Regions from separate parts of the Homo sapiens genome. Here region 1 is linked to region 2. Evidence: promoter capture Hi-C in 16 types of primary human blood cells and fetal thymus (Javierre and others, 2016). All regions are on one chromosome and are shown on one strand. The core of a region is centred on a gene start or on the middle of the fragment in contact, and the rest is flanking DNA. Distances in the headings are between cores, read along the strand shown. Region 1 overlaps CACNG2 (calcium voltage-gated channel auxiliary subunit gamma 2). Region 2 holds the start of TMPRSS6 (transmembrane serine protease 6).

The links. The method cuts DNA at HindIII sites, captures the fragments that hold promoters and counts their contacts. A CHiCAGO score of 5 or more calls a contact.
Region 1: a fragment that was not itself captured here is called in contact with the fragment with the promoter of TMPRSS6 in region 2 in 1 of 17 cell types (M1 macrophages); the score reaches 5.1 in M1 macrophages.

The regions. Positions count from the first base shown.
Region 1 is chr22:36,612,354-36,617,528 of GRCh38, forward strand. All of the region lies in intron 1 of CACNG2 (calcium voltage-gated channel auxiliary subunit gamma 2), which reads right to left. Among named protein-coding and RNA genes, the nearest start is that of EIF3D, 86 kb to the left of the region's middle. The HindIII fragment of the contact is 159 bases long and covers 2,385-2,543 here.
Region 2 is chr22:37,106,106-37,111,094 of GRCh38, forward strand. It overlaps TMPRSS6 (transmembrane serine protease 6), which reads right to left and starts at 3,608. Exons shown (of 18, transcript NM_001374504.1): 1 at 3,398-3,608. RefSeq lists an enhancer at 1,838-2,339. The HindIII fragment of the contact is 29,267 bases long and covers 1-4,989 here.

The sequences.
Region 1 (5,175 bases), core at 1,214-3,713, 490 kb before region 2:
ACTATATTAGTATAACATAAGGTGCCTGGCACATAGTAGATGCTTAATAAATGGTATTGACTACAACCACATTGAGAATAATCTTCTACTCTGCCTGGAGTAAAAGACTCTAGCCTCCTAAGTCCCTGAGATCCTTACTAGTTTTCTTCATTGTTTTTACCAGCCAATATCTTCCGTACATTCATAGTTTATCGTCCCTGGAAATCTCATAACTTCTTGGAGGAGAGAGGCCACCTCCTGGTTATGCCTCTTCCCACAACCCTCTCACTTGGCCAGCATCCGCCTGGTTATTTGGCTGGTCATACGCTCCACCACGAGCACACAACACATGTCCAAAGAATGTGCTTCCCACGCTCCTCAATCCTCACTTTCCCAAACATACCCCCTCCACCACCTTCCAGCTTGCTACCACTTAGCAGATGCCTGATATGTTTTAGCTCAATGAATGAATGAGAGAACCCAGACCAAAGAAGTCTTTTGTCCTAAGCTTGGGAGAGGATGCTTTTTACCAGTGGTTTACCGGCTGCAGGTATTTCATCCATTAGACACATCCTTTCCCGCTAATGCTGTGATTTCCAAAGTTCATTCTGCTGATTCCAGCCCCAGGAGATGCTAAGAGGAGATACAAAATAAAGGGGTTCCACTGGCAAGTAAGTTTGGGAAATGCTGAACAAGGGGAGGTTAAATAGGTTTCCTTACCTCAGGGCTTTTCTGTGCCTTTACTATGCTAACTGCATTGTCAAACTCTAATGTGGGAATATAGTGCTCAATGTTTCCAAAAGTTCATTTCATTACAGGCTCTCTGTGTGTGTGTGTGTGTGTGTGTGTGTGTGTGTGCATGTGTGTCTTTCATCTCACGGGGCTACAATCTTTGGATCACTCTTTGGGGAACACTGCAGTAAATGAATCTTGGATTTCACACCTGTACTTTCATGCACAGCAGGGAGTAATGAAAAAGCAAAATGCAAAGGTTTCTAATACCTTTCTCCCTCAAGTGCTAGTGTGGGAGGCATTTCTATACATGTCCCTACAGTCAGCATCTACACATGCCCCTACAGCTTTTGCTATGCACCGTTGACATGATTTGAGTAATCTGACCACCTGGCTTCTTTCTTGATGTGCCGTCTTCCCTTGGCGTCTGGGTCCTCAAGGTTGCTTGGTTTTCTTCCTGTTCATTTTCAGACTCCTTTGCAAGGTCCTCTTCCTCTGATTATCTTGTACATTTGGTGTTTCTGGGGCTCTCTCTTTGGCTGTCTTCTCTTTTCATTCTACATATGTTCCTCAGAAATCTCATCTCTGGCTTCCGTTTTCACTTACATACTGATGACCCACAAGTCTTTATATACAACCCAGTCCTGTCTTCTTTCCCTTGAGTTCTTGGTGCGCTGGCTGTCCCCCCGTGAATATCCCACAGATATCTGAACCTCAACCTGAACTTAGTGTCCATTTCCCCCATCCTCTTATGCTGGCTCAATAATAAATCATGCCTTCCTCCAGCCCATTTCCCAAGCTGCAAACCTTGGAGTCATCCTTGATTTCTACCTCTTCATCTCCACTCCCAGCAAATCGCCAATTCTTTAACATGTCTTGAATCTGGACCCCTACCAACCGTTCCCTGCACTCTCAGAACACCCTCCAACCCCCAAGTGGCTCCCCTGCTTCCCTCTTCCCTACCACTGATTACTTCCACTCTGTAGTCACTGTGATTTACAAAAGGTGAAATCGGAGCTGCCTCTCCTCAGTGCCTCCCCATTCCTACAGGATGACGTCCAAACTCTTTGACAAGGTCAACAGGGTCCACCACAATTCGACAGCTGCTTTGATCTTCAGAAACTACATCCTGTTGTAAGTCCCAGGACCCACCACGCTCTCTCCTATCTCTGGACGTTTGCCACGTGCTTCCTGGCTGTCCTTCCCAACTCACTTCTCTATCACTTCTCCTCTCTGCCCACCCCTGGATACTCCCTATTGATGCCTTAGTGCTCAGTTTACACATCATTTCCTTGAGGAAGGCTTCCTTGAAGACTGTCCCTTCCCCCACATCACCCCAAATCCTGAGCCGGCAGCTCCTTCTGGTTCCCATGGCACCCCGCACTCTTTGGTATGGCGACATTCCTGGACTACATTGAAAGGCCTGTGGCCTGCTTCCTTGCCTGTCTCCTCCACTGGTGTGAAAGCCCCTTGAAGAGCTGCTGCATTCATCATTGTATCCTGAGGCAGAGGCAGAGGCAGCCTGTCCACCCTCTCATGTTTCCGATGCACCCAAGCACCATCCAGCCCCGGGTCAGCACATCCACAGAGAGCAGGCAGGGTGGTGGGAGCAGCAAGTGGTGAGGCCTGTGATGCCATAATCAATTTTGCTGGGCTTAGCGTAGTTACTGAAAAGCTTGTGGAGGGAAGAGAACACACCTATTGACTCAAAGGAGGTTTGGGGATTTTCTGTGGTTTGCAACGATCCATTTGCTCGTTACTAGCTGAGATCTGGAATTGGCAGTACTGACATAATGGCTTATGTCCGTGGACTTACTGCACATGGAGAAAGAAGCTTCGGAGTCTGGGGGAAGAATGCATTTCGCCTTTCCAAGCTTCCCTTGTCCTTGCCTCATCTCTTGAGCGGTGCCAGATGACAAGGGCCTCTGTCACTGTGATGCAGTTTACTTCCTATCTCCCTCTCTAGCAGAGGTCTGCTCTTGGAGAACGGACTATGTGTATTTTGTTCACAATGTACCTCCACTGCCCATCCAGGGCTTTGGCTTGCACCAGGTGCCCAGTAAATGTCTGGAGAATAAATGAATTGAATGAAGGTATTCGCAGCCATATGTCCACTACAGCCTATAAGGCTGCATCTGATTTGGTTGGGAGGGCAAGTGTGTGTACAAGGTTTGTAGTGATTGGCAGGAATCTCACAGATAAGACTAGTGAACAAACTGCACAAACTACTGCCCAGTGGTTGGATTTCCTGTATCTCATGGGTACCACACCTGCAGGGCCCTTCTTGGTTTAGTCTGTGATGACTGCTACGCTCAACTGCCGCTTTCCACAATCTGACTGCTCAGCCACACTGGATTCCTGATTTCTCTTTCCATACAACAAGCAGACTTCCCCTCTGGGCCTCTTGCACCATGGCTCCCCTGTCTAGAATGCTCTTGTTTTGCATCCGCATGATGGGCTCCTCACTTATTCAGGACAAAAATGATATGACCATCATTCTCTGTTCCCCCAGCTGGGTTAATTTTCTTCTTATCACGTACCCTGCATTCATCTTACCACTATCACATTTTTATTTATTTTTATGTTTACTGTTAGTCCCATTAGAATGGACGATCCACGAGGGCGGGGCTTTGCTCTGCTCACTGTTGCAGCACCAGAGTATAGACCCATGACTGGCATGTAGCAGGTGCTCAGTAAATATTTGTGGAACAGTCTGATTTAGCTTTCTGCTTTCCAAAGAAATAATGTCACAATAGTGTTAGTTAAAAAAAATAGTGTTAGTTAAAAAAATTGTGTTAGTTAAAAAAAGAAAGAACTCACAGATGTACTGCATGTCAAGGTATGAAAGTGTGTCTATGTTCAAACATTCTCTTATTTATTCCTCACATAATATTATTCAACCACACACGTGGTAGATGGAGTGTTTATCTCTCCTATTTTTCAAATCCAGAGCTCAGAAAAGTAAAATCATTTGCCCCAAAGACCCTCAACTCAGAAACTTATGTCATCTGACTCCAGATCTCGTGTCCCTTGAGTGACAATGTCCTTGAATTACTTAACCTCTTGTTGCCCTGGTGTCCTCATCTGTGATATGGAGATAAGAAAAGAATAATCCTCCTAGTGTTGTGTGAAGGTCAAATGAGTTAATTTGGTGTGATGCTTAGAGAAGTGCCTGATACATACTAAGAACTCTGTAAATGTTACTTATTATTGTTGAGTTATTTTAATATTGAATTATTATTAAAATTCTCCCTTGTTAGAATTCTATCCTTGAATTTCTGATGCATTTTTCATGCAGCTGCATTTTAGATAAGACATATTAAATACCTGTCTTTCACTACTGGGATTTATCTTGGTAAGGCTGCACGCCATAGTCTAGCGCCTTACGATTCACCGGATTTTCCTGTCTCCAATTGTTCCCATTCACCTGTCTCCCCAGCGAGAGTGTAAGTTCCTGGAAACTAGAGAGTATTGCTGATAGAGGTCTGGACAAAGTGTGACTGTTTTCCTTTTTCATTGAGATCTGTAATCCATCTGGAATTGATTTTTTTTTTTCTGTATGGTATGAAGCAGGGGTTGAGATGCATTTCGTTCCCTATACAGACCTGGGTGACCCAACACCATTGCATCCTGCTTGCTTGGCTCATAAAGTTCTCTCTGCTTCAACTGCCATCTCCTTTCTCAGGACCTATTTGAGTCTTCCATATTCTTCAAAGCACAACTAAAATCCTGCCTCCTTTATGAAGTCTTTCCTGACTAATGCACTATTCATTTATACCATGATGATCTATTTATTTTCTACTCTGTGTTGGGCATTGTGATAGGCAAAGGGATGCTGGGCACTGGGGAGAGTGGTGAATGAATCAGAGACCATCCCTTCCCTCAAGAATCACACAGGCCAGGAAAGGGACACAGACATTGACCAAGTTATGGTGCATGTGGGTGTTGGGAAGTGGAATTCTGGGCTCCTGGAGATGTGTAACTGGGATGTAACCTAGTTTGGGTTTTCAATGAAGTCTCTCCCAAGGCATCCATGTTGAAATTGAGACCTTGAACATGACTAGGAACTTGCTAGACCAGGTCATGGGGGTGGGGAGATTGGTATTTCTCCATGTTCCAGTCTTGAAGAGCACAGACATATTTAATATTCTTTCTTTATGTTTCATGTTGATCTATCTGGATAGATGTTCCTTGGGGATTAGGAGCAGAAACTATTTTTTAAAAATCCATTACAGAGCCTAGTACAGGGCTGAAAGCAAAGTAGGTGTTCTATGTATGTTAATTCAGAGGGCAGGTAAAAGCATTGTATCAGTCATGCTGGAAATGCTGTAATCTGGTCATTTGCTCAGAGGAGGGAACTAAATGAGAGGAAGTATACCAGCTTTTGGAGGCAGACAGATCTGGTGTAAACCTTGGCTTTGTCACTTACCAGCTATTCATGTTGAGCCAATTTACTTAATCTGA
Region 2 (4,989 bases), core at 2,358-4,857:
CTGTGGGGACAGGTACTCTGATCACTCCTACTTTACAGATGGGAGAGTCAAGGCACAGAGAGGTTGAGCAGCTTGGCTAAGGTCACACAGCTGGTCAGCAGCACAGCCAGGCTGCAAAGTCAAGCAGATTGACTTCAGAGTGACGCCCTGATCACTGAGCCCTACTACCTCTCAGATAATCAGTGTAAAGAGAGGGAAACTGAGGCTCGGAGCAGGTCGTGGGTCCATTAGAGGAAGCCCGAAGAGGGGCAGCTCATGGTGGGGTGCTTGGTGGGCCTCCCCTCCCCTCTCATCCTCCAAGCCAGGCGTCCTTCTCTATGCAGATTTTGCCTCCCTCTAAATGCCCCTCGCATCCATCTGGGAGGACTTTGAGCAGCACAGAGAGGCTCATTTTCAGGACACCCTCTGTAAAAACCCAAGCCATGGTCCAAATGGCAGTAGTGGGAAATTAATTCCCCCGGGCTCATCATAACTTCCCACCCAAACCCCTGGGGCGGCCTCCTCACTAGGTCCCCTGCCTCCATTGCGTCTTCCAGCGCATCCTCCCTCCCCAGCTCAATCGCTCACCTGCTCAGGATCCTTTCACAGCTCCCAGCCACTTATCATCCAAACCCCTTGCTGCGACATCCAAGACCCTCCATGGCCAGGCTGCTGTCCACCCTCCTCGTGGCTATAACTTCCATCATGCACATGGTGCCCCAGGCCCACGAGACCCTGCCTTTGTGCAGCTGAGTCCCCCTGCCTGGACTGTGGGGAACTCTTACCAGGCGACCTGCCAGGCACTGGGTTCTGGGCCCCTGGCTAGTTAAGCTGCCCCCTCCCCTGGGCAGCCCTTGATCAGATCAAGAATATGCCTTGGCTTTGGGTCTTGCCTCTGTCCCCTACAGAACAGGCAGGGCCAGCATCTTGCTCACCTCTGGGGTTCCCCATGGAACGCCGCACAGCCCGTCACATGAGTGAAGGATCAGAAAGAATGAGTGAATGAAACTGCCAAGTCTCTAGGCCCCTGGTACAGGGCTTTCTATCTTGCTGCCTCCAGGAAGGAGGACTTGTGAGGCCTGGCACTGGGGCATGGACAATGGTGTGGGCCTGTGGGGTCCCAGGTTCAATGCTCAGTCACCCTATCTTTGTCTAGCACCTGCTTGGTGCCAGGCTCTGTGGTGGCGACAGGGTGGCACATGGTGACTCTAAGAGACCTCATTCCCATCCTCTTGGGTTTCCTGCCCAGCAGGAGGAGGGGCAGTGGACAGTTGTGAAGATGACGGTGCCACTCTTGTCTTTACTATCTTATAATACAACGGCTCCCCCATTCCCAGGGTCCAGCACCTTTGGAAAAGCCTGTGGCCCTACCTTCCAAATGCCCCCCAAAGCCAGCCCCTTCTTGGCCCCCCATGACTCCCACCATCATCCAGGCCACCGTCATCTGTCACCTCGACTCCTGCAATAGCCAATCACCCACCCCCCTACCCAGTGAGTTCTCACACAATGGCCACTGCGTGTTGTCACCATGTGCCCTGCCCACAAGCCTCGCACGGCTTCCATCCACCTAGAACACAGTCCCTAAAGACCCAGGGTCTCAGTTTTCCTGTCCTCTTTGCTGAATGGGAGGTTTGCTCCTTGCTGGGCCTGGGATGTTTTCCTTTCTGCTGGCCTCGTGGCTCCCTCCTTTACCTCCTCCAAAGGGTCAGATGTCACCTCTCCAGAGAGGCCTTCCCTGGGCACTCCCGTCTCTCCTGCATTTTTCTTTATAGCAATTACAGAGGCCTAAATTGCCTGATATGCAAATATGTCATTTATCTGCCTCCTCCCTGTCTGTAAGCTGCATGAGAGCAGAGTCTGGTACTCAGCGGACACTCAGTAATTGTTAAATGAATGAATGACAAGGTCCCAGCTCCTTCCTCCCTACAGAAGTCCAAGGTGCTGTGTGCATATGTGGCCTGGCCAACTTCTCCTGCCTCCTTTTTTCCCACCCTCTCTTTTCCCCGTCGCACCCCAAGGACACTGGACTTCCATTGGTGAGAAATTTTAACAATGGGATGGTAGCAAACATTTATGGATTAAGAGCAGCCAGCCGGCACCAAGAGCCCTCGTGGACCTTGAGCCCTGTCAGTGCTTGTTCACGGCCAGGCGTCCCCACACTCTTCCTTCTGCCTGGGCCCCCACCTCCCAACCTGGCCAGCTCTTATGCAGCCCCTGTCACCTCAGTTCAGACCTCACCTCTTCGCAGCTCTCCCAGAGTGCCCTAGAAGGGGCGGCTGCCCCTCGCGATGTGCAGCTTACCTGTGGGCACTCTCTCTTTGCCCCTCACATTGAACTCCTGGAAGCGGGGACTGTGCTCCAATTGCCACAGGGGCCTGAAGCAGTCCCCCAGCTCTGAGCACCATGGACCCCACCCTGGCACCTGCTCCTCACTCCCTCCTGCCCTTCTGGCCATTGGAGGGTCTCGGGTCTGCCTGCTGGAGGCTGAGCTCCTTGGGGCGGGGCCGCGACTCCCCCAGCAATGCAGATCCGGATTCAACCACTGCGTATGAACTCCTACCATGTGCCAGCCCTGTGCTGGGCAGTGCTGCAAACTCCACTGCAGCCTCCAACAGCCTGGGGTGCCTACTTTGCTGACTCTATTTAATGGCTGGGGAAACTGAGGTAGAGAGAGGTAACATGACTTACCCGAGGTCCCTCAGCCAGGGCAGAGCAGAGCAGAGCAGGGACTCTGGGCTAGGGCCATAGGGGCATCTTTCAGTGAAACCATTAGGCCCTAGAGTCCTGAGAGTGTGGGGGACTGGGTGGGGGTCCCTTCCACACATATAAACACACTCACAGACCCACAGATGTACACAGATGGAGACACGCGGAGGGATATACGCACATCTATTCATGACACAAAAATTCATAGATGCACGCCCTTCCTACACAGACACACACACGAACACACATACACATACATGCCAACTCTGAGCCTGTGAGCCCAGGGTCCTGGGCTTAAGTCAGTACATAGGTGCAATGTGGGGCTCCGGGCCTGTCTCCTACACCAGAAGGCCCAGGTGGGGTACCGGGTGTGGAGGGGGCAGCATGTCCAGTCCTGCGAGGCAGGGGTAGGGTGGCCTCTCCCTTCCTCCTGTCCCTGCCACCTGAATCCCAGGCCACCAACCACCCAGCACTGATGCTGTGCCTGTCCACACACCTGGTGTCACCCTGCGTGGTCCCTCCCCTCCCCAGCTCTGTGGGCCCCTCACCTTCTGCTCACTGATCACCCTCTGGCCGATGAGGCCCTGCAGGCCTGGCCTCGGAGCAGGGTAGGTGGCTCAGGCTGCAGGGAGCCAGGCCCAGCTCTTAGGGTGGACACTGTCACTAGGTCATTTATAGATCCCGGTCCCCTGTCCTGGAGGCCCCCGCTTACCTTTGGGAGCGGCAGATAGGTGCCGGGCCTGCACACAGGCCTCAGGAGCCTCTGTTTGTCCAGGCCAAGGCCTCCCCACCCCCACCCAGCCAGCCCAGGCTGGATCAATGGCCTAGAGCCATGACCAGGGTGTCTGGCCCTTGTCCCCTGTGGCCTGTGGCCTCAGGCTCCATGGAACTCCTCCTGCTGGGTCCTGGACAGCACTGTGACTAAGTACAGGTAAACAGGCAGGAGGTAGGAGAAGGCAGTGCCTGCCCCGCCCCATCTTCCCCCACCCCCGCATGGGCACCCCAGAGGCTGGCAGGCAGGTGCGGGAGATCTGAGCTCTCCCCCGAGGCCCGTTGCCTGGTGACATGCCTGCCTGGTTACAGCCCCTGGTCCCCGAGAGCATGAGGTAGGGACAGCCAAGGACTGGGGACTGTGCAGAGGCCGGTGCAGGTGAGTGCAGGGGCTCACAAGGGTGAGTCCAGGTGCTTACCTGGACAGGCGAGACTAAAGGAGCTGCTGGCCTGAGAGAGAGAAAAGGAGGCTGGGCCCATATACTCTGGGGACTGGAGAGGAGAAAGGGGAGGCAGGGGTGGGGTTTGATGCTATTTTCTGTTTAGCTGGGAATTATTTGAATTCCTACCTCGTTCTTTTTTTTTTTTTTTTTTTTTTTTAAGATGGAGTCTCACTCCGTCACCCAGGCTAGAGTGCAGTGGTGTGATTTCGGCTCACTGCAACCTCCGCCTCCCGGGTTCAAGCAATTCTCCTGCCTCAGCCTCCCAGGTAGCTGGGATTACAGCGCCCACCACCATGCCCGGCTAATTTTCATAATTTTAGAAGAGATGGGGTTTCACCATGTTAGCCAGGCTGGTCTCGAACTCCTGACCTCAAGTGATTCCACCCACCTCGACCTCCCAAAACGCTAGGATTACAGGCATGAGCGACCGCACGCAGCATGAATTCCTACCTGGTTCCGTAGCGCTGTGCTGTCCATGACGGTAGCCGCTGGTCACCCGTGGCTCTTGAGTCAGTCTGAACTGAGAAAAGCTGCACGGGGGAGACGCACACCAGGTTTCCAAGGCCAAGTGCAAACAGGATGTCAACCAACGCGATAACAATTTTTATATTGATTTTATGTTGAAATAACACTGGTGATCATGGGATAAATAAAATGTATTATTAAAAGCAATTTTCTTCTGGCTCTCTTGTTTTTTTTTTTTTCAGAGACAGGGTCTCATTAGGTTGCCAGGCTGGTCTGGAGCTCCTGGGCCCACATGATCCTCCTGCTTCAGCCTCCCAAGTAGCTGGGATTACAGGCGCGGGCCACCACACCCCTTGTTGCATGTGGATATTAGACAGGTTAAGTCACAAGTGTGACCTGCGTTGTTGTTCTATGGAACAGCGTTGCTGTGGAGATGGGTTTGAGCCATATGCGTGCCGAAGTGCCGGATGGGAGCCAGGGCTTTCTAGGGTGCGTGCAGGGCAGCGGGCGTCTGTCTCAGACAAGGCTGACTTTCAGCGAGTCTACATCCTGAGGCCAGAATGCGGGGTGCACGCCTGAGATGCTGTGTGCTGTGGGCATATGGGTCCCAGAGTGTGTGTGTAAG